3 separate regions of the Homo sapiens genome follow, and regions 1 and 2 are each linked to region 3. Evidence: promoter capture Hi-C in 16 types of primary human blood cells and fetal thymus (Javierre and others, 2016). All regions are on one chromosome and are shown on one strand. Each heading gives the region's core, a stretch centred on a gene start or on the middle of the fragment in contact. The rest is flanking DNA. Distances are from core to core; before and after follow the strand shown.

Region 1 (2,943 bases), core at 187-2,686, 280 kb before region 3:
TGTCTTAGATTAACCCAGAGGGGGCTCCAACAAGCTGGATCGTGTCCTTTAAACATTCCTTCATCATTTTACTACCTGGCACCACAATATGCTCCAGGTTTGTCTTAGTTTATTTGGGTCGCTATAACAAAATACCATAAACTAGGTGGCCTATAAACAACAAAAATTTATTTCTCACAGTTATGGAGCCTGGAACACCCAAGATCAAGGAAGCTTTCCCTGATACATAGACGGTGCCTTTCTGCTGTGTCCTTACTTGCTGGAGGGGGCAAGGCAGCTCCCCGGAGCATCTTTAATAAGGACACTTATTCCAATCACGAGGGCTGCAGCCTCATAGCCTAATCACACCCCAAAGGCCCCACCTACTAGTGCTATCACCTTGGGAGCGAGAATTTCAACATATGAATTTGGGTGGGGGGGGTGGGCAACACAAACATTCAGACGATAGCACTGGGGATAAGGTAGATCTTTCAAAATAGTTAAATTGATTTTACCTGTAGACAACACTCTAAGAAAAAATGGAGATGTTCAAAAGAAGCTGCCAGGCAAACTATCAGCTTCCAGAATTGCTGATTTGTATGCTGAAATAAGTCTATAATTTAGCAAATTGACTCACTAAAATGACTGGGCAAGTGGAATGTGCTCTAATGGGACTTTTGACATCCCGCCCTCTACACAGGCAGCTGTAAACACATTTACTATCCAATCTCAAAAGCTCACATTGGTGATCATTGCAATATATGCCAGAGATTTTACAAGAATAAACAAAATGCTCTTTATACTGACAGCTCGTCTCTCACAGTTCATGACCTAAGATAAACATAACGGTAAGCCTTGTGACTGGACCTCCTATAACCCTCCCCTTGGTGCCCCCGGCAGCCTCCATCCTCACTCCCCTCCGATCCATCCCGCATGCTCCTTTCAGAGCAATCTTCCTGTAAATGCAAACCTCATCATGTCATTGCTGGGGAAGAAACTCTCCAGTGGTTTCCCATCACAAACCATTAATGTCTAGATGCCTTAGCCTGGCACACAAGATGCCTGTGACGTTGCCCAGCACACTCCTCTCCAGGCCCTTTAAATAAAACCCCACAAGCCCTCCAAGCCTTTGCTGCACTGTGGCTGCTCCGGATTTGTTCCATGCCATTCTGCCCATCTTCTGCCTTCTCTGTTTTGCCAACCATATTCCAGCTCTGCACCCTGGAGCCTCATGTCAGTCCTGCCCTTTGGATCTGCAGCTTGTGCTAGAAATTGCTCTCTGGCTTTCCCTTTGACCAAGGTTCACCCGGCAAATGACTCCTGGCCTCTGCTTTTCTGTGTCAGTACCTGGAACTGTGGGTGAGAGGCGTCCTCCAACAGACCGGTCTCTGCCTTTCTTTTCTGCCCACCTCCTGTTGGCTGCCCCCAAACTGCCTTGTACATAGAAATATCTTCAGTTTCTTAGAAGAGATGCTCTTCTTTAACATCTCCTTACCTCATCGCCTCATCTGCTTGGAATTTCCCCCTTCCCACTACCTGTCACTCTCCTTCCTTCTCACTGCACCCTTCTTGCAGGTGACTTCTAATTCCATTAGCAATCAGCCCTCAACTAAAGCCCCATCCCCATGGAAAGTCTGCCCTGGCCCCTACTTTCCTCCATTTTACTCTCATTCTCAGCTGCCCAGGCAGAGATGGGCTTTCCCTCTTCTGCCCTCATTTGGACCTTTAAATACCTTTCTTTTTTTTTTTTTACTAATTACACTGTAAGGTATTTTGAGTGTATATCTGAGTCTCTCCCTGGAGATTCTAAGACTCTGGTTAAGGACAGGTTTTATTTGCCTTTTGTACCTCCAGGACTAAGTCTAGTGCCAGCATGTAGAATAAATACAAGAGTTCTAGACTGAGTAAATAGAAAGAAGAATCACAACTGAACAAAAGAATAAGTTAAATATGCCACTGAGTTCATCCTGTATGTCTTCTGTTTACTCAAGTACAAATATAAAGGGTACGTTGATATAGTCTTTCACACTTTCACTTACTGTTTTGAAATGTAATGCATGGTAGCATTAAAGGAAATTTTATAAGAATTGGTAGGTGTAAGGCCCTACCCCTCACACTACTGTTTTCTTTACCCCAGGTTTCCTTTTATTCCTTTTTTTTTTTTTTTTTGCCTATATACTTCTCCTTGGCAGATACAGAATCAAATGTTGTGTAATTTTTATTTGCCTTTTTGGTTAAAATTGTCCTTTTAATATTTTACACATTGCTAAATCATTTATACTTTTTTAGAAGGATTCTACCAATTTGCAATGTAAAGACACATTTTTATCACTAAGATTAAGTCGATCTTTATCTGATTTTACTCCAAGTTCAATTTTATTGCAGCAGTAAATTTTGAGCTCCTAGAGTGTTAAAACAGTGTTTCCTATCTCTGTATTCCTGGTGCCTAACAAACAACTGATACTTAATAAATCTTTGTTGAAAATATGAAGGTATTTTACTTATTGTATATGTAAAAATTATATCAATAAGTATTTATAAATTATATATGTGTGTGTATATATATATATATATATGAATAAAATTTGGCAGAGCAATCTAATCTAAGTTCTTTTCACATACCCCAAGCCTGAGCAGATAGGCAAAACCCCACTGAACCAAATCTTTTCTAAAAGCTTGATATTCTATCCTATACTCAAAGACTGCTGAAGGCAACCTCACAACCTTCTTTAATGGTTCATTTTAATGCTAATAATTGCCAAATCAGAAGGCTGTTTGCTTCTTCCTCTCTAACCAAAGTTACCTACAGTACAAAGTAAGTGTATTTTTTTTTCTTCCCTTCCCTTCCTTTTTCTCTTTCTTTTTCTGTTCTTGGTGAAAACAAACCAGTTGGCTTCTGGATATAAGCTTGCCAGGTCCTCTCTGAGCTTCTCATTCTCACAAATGAGGTAAGATCATTCACTC
Region 2 (3,097 bases), core at 114-2,613, 300 kb before region 3:
CAACCTACTCATCTGACAAAGGGCTAATATCCAGAATCTGCAGTGAACTCAAACAAATTTACAAGAAAAAAACAAACAACCCCATCAAAAAGTGGGCGAAGGATATGAACAGACACTTCTCAAAATAAGATATTTATGCAGCCAAAAAACACATGAAAAAATGCTCACCATCACTGGCCATCAGAGAAATGCAAATCAAAACCACAGTGAGATACCATCTCACACCAGTTAGAATGGCGATCATTAAAAAGTCAGGAAACAACAGGGGCTGGAGAGGATGTGGAGAAATAGGAACACTTTTACAGTGTTGATGGGAGGGTAAACTAGTTCAACCATTGTGGAAGTTAGTGTGGCGATTCCTCAGGGATCTAGAACTAGAAATACCATGTGACCCGACCATCCCATTACTGGGTATATACCCAAAGGACTATAAATCATGCTGCTATAAAGACACATGCACACGTATGTTTATTGCGGCACTATTCACAATAGCAAAGACTTGGAATCAACCCAAATGTCCAACAAGGATAGACTGGATTAAGAAAATGTGGCACATATACACCATGGAATACTATGCAGCCATTAAAAATGATGAGTTCATGTCCTTTGTAGGGACATGAAGCTAGAAACCATCATTCTCAGCAAACTATCGCAAGGACAAAAACCAAACACCGCATGTTCTCACTCATAGGTGGGAATTGAATAATGAGAACACATGGACACAGGAAGGGGAACATCACACACCGGGGACTGTTGTGGGGTGGGGGGAGGGGAAAGGGATAGCATTAGGAGATATATCTAATGCTAAAAGACGAGTTAATGAGTGCAGCACACCAACATGGCACATGTATACATATGTAACAAACCTGCACGTTGTGCACATGTACCCTAAAACTTAAAGTATAATAATAAGAAAATAAAATAAATAAATAAATAAATAAATAAAATAAGTGGAAGGTAAACATTTAGTACACATGGACACAAACAACGGAACAATTGACACCAGGGCCTTCTTGAGGGTAGAAAGTGGGAGAAGGGTGAGGATTTAAAAACTACCTATTGGGTACTATGTTGATTACCTGGGTGACAAAATTATTAGTACGCCAAATCCCTGCAACATGCAATTTACCCATATAACAACCTGCACATGTACCCCATGAACCTAAAATAAAAGTTGAAAACAATTGAAAATATAATTTTAAAAAAAAGAAAAAAAAAAAAAGAAGCAAAGGACTGTTGGGGGAAATGATTGCTTCGTCATTCCTGGTGTTTCCTTTGTAGGGAGAAAGCTCCGCAGCCATAACACATTGTTACCTACTCCCCGATGGATGAGTTGGAAGGGGAAAGTGGCCATGCCAAATCTATGTTCTCACAGTTCTGGAGGCTGGAAAGTCCAAGATGAAGGCACCAGCAGATTTAGTGTCTGGTGAGAACTGCTCTCTATCTCCAAGATGGCACCTCTTATTGCATCCTCATGTAGCAGAAAGTGTGACCAGTTCCCTCACACCTCTTTTAAACATGCTAATCCCAAAGGCTCCGCCCTCATGACTTAAACCCCCACCTCTTAATACTATCACATTGGCAATTAAGTTTCAACACATGAATTTGGGGAGGGCACATTCAGACCATAGCATGGCTCCCTTAGCGTGCTGCAAGGTGTTTCTATCACCACATTTTTCAAAAGTCTTTCTTTTTTTTTTTTTTTTTTTTTTTTTTTTGAGACGGAGTCTCGCTGTCGCCCAGGCTGGAGTGCAGTGGCGCAATCTCGGCTCACTGCAGGCTCCGCCCCCTGGGGTTCACGCCATTCTCCTGCCTCAGCCTCCCGAGTAGCTGGGACTACAGGCGCCCGCCCCCTCGCCCGGCTAATTTTTTTTATTTTTAGTAGAGACGGGGTTTCACCGTGTTAGCCAGGATGGTCTCGATCTCCTGACCTCGTGATCCGCCCGCCTCGGCCTCCCAAAGTGCTGGGATTACAGGTGTGAGCCACCGCGCCCGGCCTCAAAAGTCTTTCTTAAGACAGCAGGACAAGAAGTCCACAACCAAATGATCAGCCTTCATATGATCAATATGCCTTGAATCGGCCAAAGTGAATCCATCAAGCAACTATTACATACACTATTTTAACCTTTAGAATTCTTTTAAAGAGTACCAAAAAAAAAGAACAGCTCACTAGTAGAACAAAATAAGCAGAGTGGGAAACCTAGAAATCCAATGGAAAGCAAAAAATAATGAGGATGACAACAATAATAATGAAGATGATGGCAAAACATAGCTTGTGTTGGCAGTGGTGGTGTTTGACAAACTCCAGGAACTGAGTCACCAGCACTTTCAACAACCTATAAATGCTACAATCTGGAGCAGTCTGGCTTATTTTAGAACCATGTAATCAGCTGTGGGTCTAAAACTAGATGATGGGTGTTGACCTGAGCAGAGAACCAAAAAGAGAGGAAACAAGGTTGTATTTCTGGAAATTAAGCACTATGTTGAAAGAACAAAGGAAGGGAATCATTTATTTAGAAGTATATGTGAAAACGTAATGAGATGAAGAAAAATCTCATTCACCCAAATCCCTGTTAGGGAAAGCATCGTATTTGTCCTGGAATAGATGTCTTGATTAATAACTACTGGTCAAGGGTAAGACTCACCCCATATCCTGCTGGTGCATGCTCAAGAAACAAGTGCTGTCTGTTAAATTGTTCTGCATAGTAGAAAAGTGAGGAGTTTAAAGTTCTATTTGAAAAGAGAAGAAGAAAAGCCAAAAGATTTATGCAAGCGGAAAAGAAACCGGATTGTTTATGTCCATACCACCCAAAGCAATACCCAGATTTAATGCAACCCCTACCAAAATTCCAATGGCTTTTTTCACAGAAATAGAAAAAACAATCCTAAAATTTGTACGGAACCACATACAAAAAAAATCCAAATAGCCAAAGCAGTACTACGAAACAAAAGCAAAGTTGGAGGTATCATACTTCCTGGTTTGAAATTATATAGCAAAGCAATAGTAAGCAAAAAAGTGCTGGGTGTGATAGGTCACACCTGTAATCTCAGTACTTCGAGAGGCTGAGGCGGGAGGATTGCTTGAGCTCAGGAGTTT
Region 3 (3,230 bases), core at 511-3,010:
ACACTTTTTACACTGCATTTAAAAACTAAATAACCTGTTCATCATTTAAGGACTATTCAGCTATAATTATCAGTCATGTTGTAAACATTAATCAATTTATCACAAGATAAAACTTGTCCTTTCTAGTGTTATCAGAAACGCCTAACAAAATATTGTACTACCAAAAAAGTACTGCTTAGCATAAAGTATCAGTAATCAACTCTACTAGCCTTCTTTCTGAAAACTCTTCAATGTTTTAAAAATATAATTCATACACAAAATTACACTCCATAGAATTCAAACTATATCCCTTTATAAAGTTTCGAGATCTCCATAATGGGATTTATTACTGCAGGGGGACAAAATAGGGATAGGGAGATTCTTCAGGGTTGTAAATCTGAAAAGAAAAAACAAAAAGTATTTTAGAAAACTGTATGTGCATGCCAAATAGAACTTACATACTCTTCAATTTATTCAGTAAAGTCTAAGAATAATTCACACTTTAGATAATACATCTTAATTCCAGCAATTTGTCACAACTTTCTAAATGAAAAAGCTATTAATTAAAATAAGTAAATGCAACATACTCCCCATAGCACTAACTATACGTGTCTTTAAAACGCACAACTTCAGAGACAGATGGAAATTTTCACACAGGAAACATTTTGTCCTTGCTCTCCTCCCCTTTTCTGGCCTAAAGGTAACTCTGGCACTCTGCTGGAGGCAAAGGCACATTGGTTAAAAAGACAGACAGACACTCCACTACACCCTGTCAGCAGCAGTACAGCAGGAATTAAGACAGCAACGTTAGTTTGTAATATCAAGTCTCTCCACGACTAGGAAAACTGCAGTAAAATGCACCACGAGTTCATTAATATAAACTCTTAAACTCTGCCATTCCCTTACAATTTCAAAGCAACGACCACAGAAAGCAACTCGAAAACAAAACCTAACACAGTGGCCTGTGAAACAGTGGCTCCGGCACTACGACCACTGGCATGATTGCTTTAATTACACCCGGTCTTATATCCTATCTTTAAATGAAAGATTTTTATCTACGTGCACCGCACTGCTGCATTCTCTTTACGCAAATTGCAGCTGGGCAGGGGATAGGATGGAAGGGAAAAGAATAGAAACTATGGGATTTACCCAATAATTTCCCAGAGTTGCTTCTCACAATACACAACAGACGACTACTGGAATGACAGAGCGCAGTGGCAACTATGAAATATGAAATATCGCCGCCACCGAAATATCTTCGTTTCAATGTATTACATTAAAAGAACGCCGAGGGCTAAGTTTAAAACCTTGCAAAAACTGCGAGAAAACATCTTGGTCAAAGTCCAAGGGCCAGAAGAGTGGGCGGCGGCCAGAGGCTTGAAAACAAGTCATTTTAAAAATCGCTTTGACTGCAAGTCTCGAAGTTGGGGCTTCCGAATCCAATAAAACCTTGGCGAGAGTAGAAAGCAGAGAGCCCCCGGCGACCCTCGACCCTTGGCCGAAGGGCCTCAGGCCCCGTCCTTCCTCGTTCGCCGCCACATCAGGGAAGTGGGCCCCCGCGGGCCCTCGCGTCCCCACCCGCCCCACGCCGCCCGAGCCCGGAAGGAGCAGCACTCACCGCAGTGCGGGCGCAGCAAACACGGAAGCTGCGCGGCTGCCTAGAGGCCTCCGCAGAGCCGGGAATCAGCGGCGCCGACAAGGAGATACGGCCCGCTCGGCTCGGATCAGCCCGGGCGCTCCCGAAGCCCGCCGCCCCATCCGGGCTCACTCTGACGCACGATGACGTCAGCGCGCCCGGCCGAGGACCAGCGTTAGCCGCCGCGCGAGGGCGCCCGGGAGGCTGGGGCCGGAAAGCGGAACCGAGAGCGCTTTCCGCCGTGCGGCGATGAACCTCCGGGAAAGACGCTGGGAGGCCAGGATGCCCGGCGCAACTGGACGCTCATCGGGAGTCACGGGGTCGGCCCTCAGGGGAACGGGGACTATCCGTATCAACTCGGTGTTTGTTCGTTTTCTTCACCTTGCGGTTTGTGCCCTCTCCACATTTCCTCTCTGTGTCTACCATTCTCCTGGGGGACGTGGCAAACCGTGAGCCGCTGCGTTTGAGTTTTGGGAAACCCTGCGGAAACGCCCTGGCGCCGGTGGTTTTGCGCGTCCTACCCTGTGTCACCTCAGGGTTATGATCTGGCCCCTGGCAAGGCTCCCCAAGTGTGATGCCTCCCCCCGTCCAGATGACTGCATTTTGAGGATGGAGTCAGTCTGGTGGCATTTTTTGCTTAAGTAAACAATTGTAACCGTTTGTGTAGCATCAGCGTTCAACAGCTGCCTGTGCAAATCGAAAAAAGCGAAACTTTGGAAACTAGGAAGCATCAGATGAATAATTCTGAAGACTTGATGTCAACGGGAGTATCTTGTTTTTAAACTTTTGGTTTTCTGTTCTGGAGACAAACAGTTCATATGCACTAAAGAAAAAAGTGTCATTATTTCAGATGCTCATTGCCAGCAAAGAGAACTGTATTGCAAGTCAGGCTTCACTCCCAGTATTTTCTGAATGTTTCAATAAAATGAAATATATACGTCTGCCTGTGTATTGGTGTACATGCACATATAATTGTACATAAACCAGAGAGGAGCCCAATTTTTTTTAATGCTTAGGTAATAGAAAATTTGTAAATAAAAACCCTTGGCTTTTGCTAGTCATGGACCTTTTGTATCCCCCCGCCATACTCCCCCAATAGTGCCATAGACACAGTGTCGTGCAGTAAATGTTTGTGGTATGACAACCAACGAACGACTTTTGAAGTTGACGCTCTTTGCCCGTTGAATCCGATGCTTGCTTCTCTCTGGGGAACTCCAAGGGGCAAATATTTAAAAAACTTCCAAATAGCAAGCCACTTAATTAGGGAGCCGGGGGAATTCCAAGACCCTGAACCATTTCCCATTTCCTGTCTGTGTCATTTCTGCCTGCCAGTCAGTCACAGAACAGGAGGTCTACTGTTCCAATGTTAATAGTCAAAGAAAGTGAGTGTAACAGTTTGTAATACAGAGAAAAGAAATGCCATGGCTCCCAATGACTAAAAACTTCCAAAAATGCACCTGGGGCTTGGTAGTAGTTTAGTATTTAGTTCAAGTCACTATTTCTCGGAAGGTTTACAGAACATTCCTAACACATGTGGGAAAATATATATAGCAAGAATTGTTCATTCTGAACTCAAGATTATTTCTCTTTTTCAGTTCTTGTCCTGACCAAAGCA

The links. The method cuts DNA at HindIII sites, captures the fragments that hold promoters and counts their contacts. A CHiCAGO score of 5 or more calls a contact.
Region 1: a contact is called between a fragment that was not itself captured here and the fragment with the promoter of BIRC2 in region 3, in 10 of 17 cell types (M1 macrophages, M0 macrophages, naive B cells and 7 more). The highest score is 8.2, in M1 macrophages.
Region 2: a fragment that was not itself captured here is called in contact with the fragment with the promoter of BIRC2 in region 3 in 9 of 17 cell types (M1 macrophages, M0 macrophages, M2 macrophages and 6 more); the score reaches 14.8 in M1 macrophages.

Annotation. Positions count from the first base shown.
Region 1 is chr11:102,629,080-102,632,022 of GRCh38, reverse strand. No RefSeq gene overlaps it. Among named protein-coding and RNA genes, the nearest start is that of MMP20, 5.2 kb to the right of the region's middle. The HindIII fragment of the contact is 2,441 bases long and covers 216-2,656 here.
Region 2 is chr11:102,646,862-102,649,958 of GRCh38, reverse strand. The region is part of intron 1 of MMP20-AS1 (MMP20 antisense RNA 1); the gene reads right to left. Among named protein-coding and RNA genes, the nearest start is that of MMP20-AS1, 7.3 kb to the right of the region's middle. RefSeq lists an enhancer at 2,859-3,028. The HindIII fragment of the contact is 4,636 bases long and covers 1-3,097 here.
Region 3 is chr11:102,345,744-102,348,973 of GRCh38, reverse strand. BIRC2 (baculoviral IAP repeat containing 2) reads right to left here and starts at 1,760. Exons shown (of 9, transcript NM_001166.5): 1 at 1,598-1,760; 2 at 1-376. RefSeq lists an enhancer at 1,139-1,208. The HindIII fragment of the contact is 3,484 bases long and covers 1-3,230 here.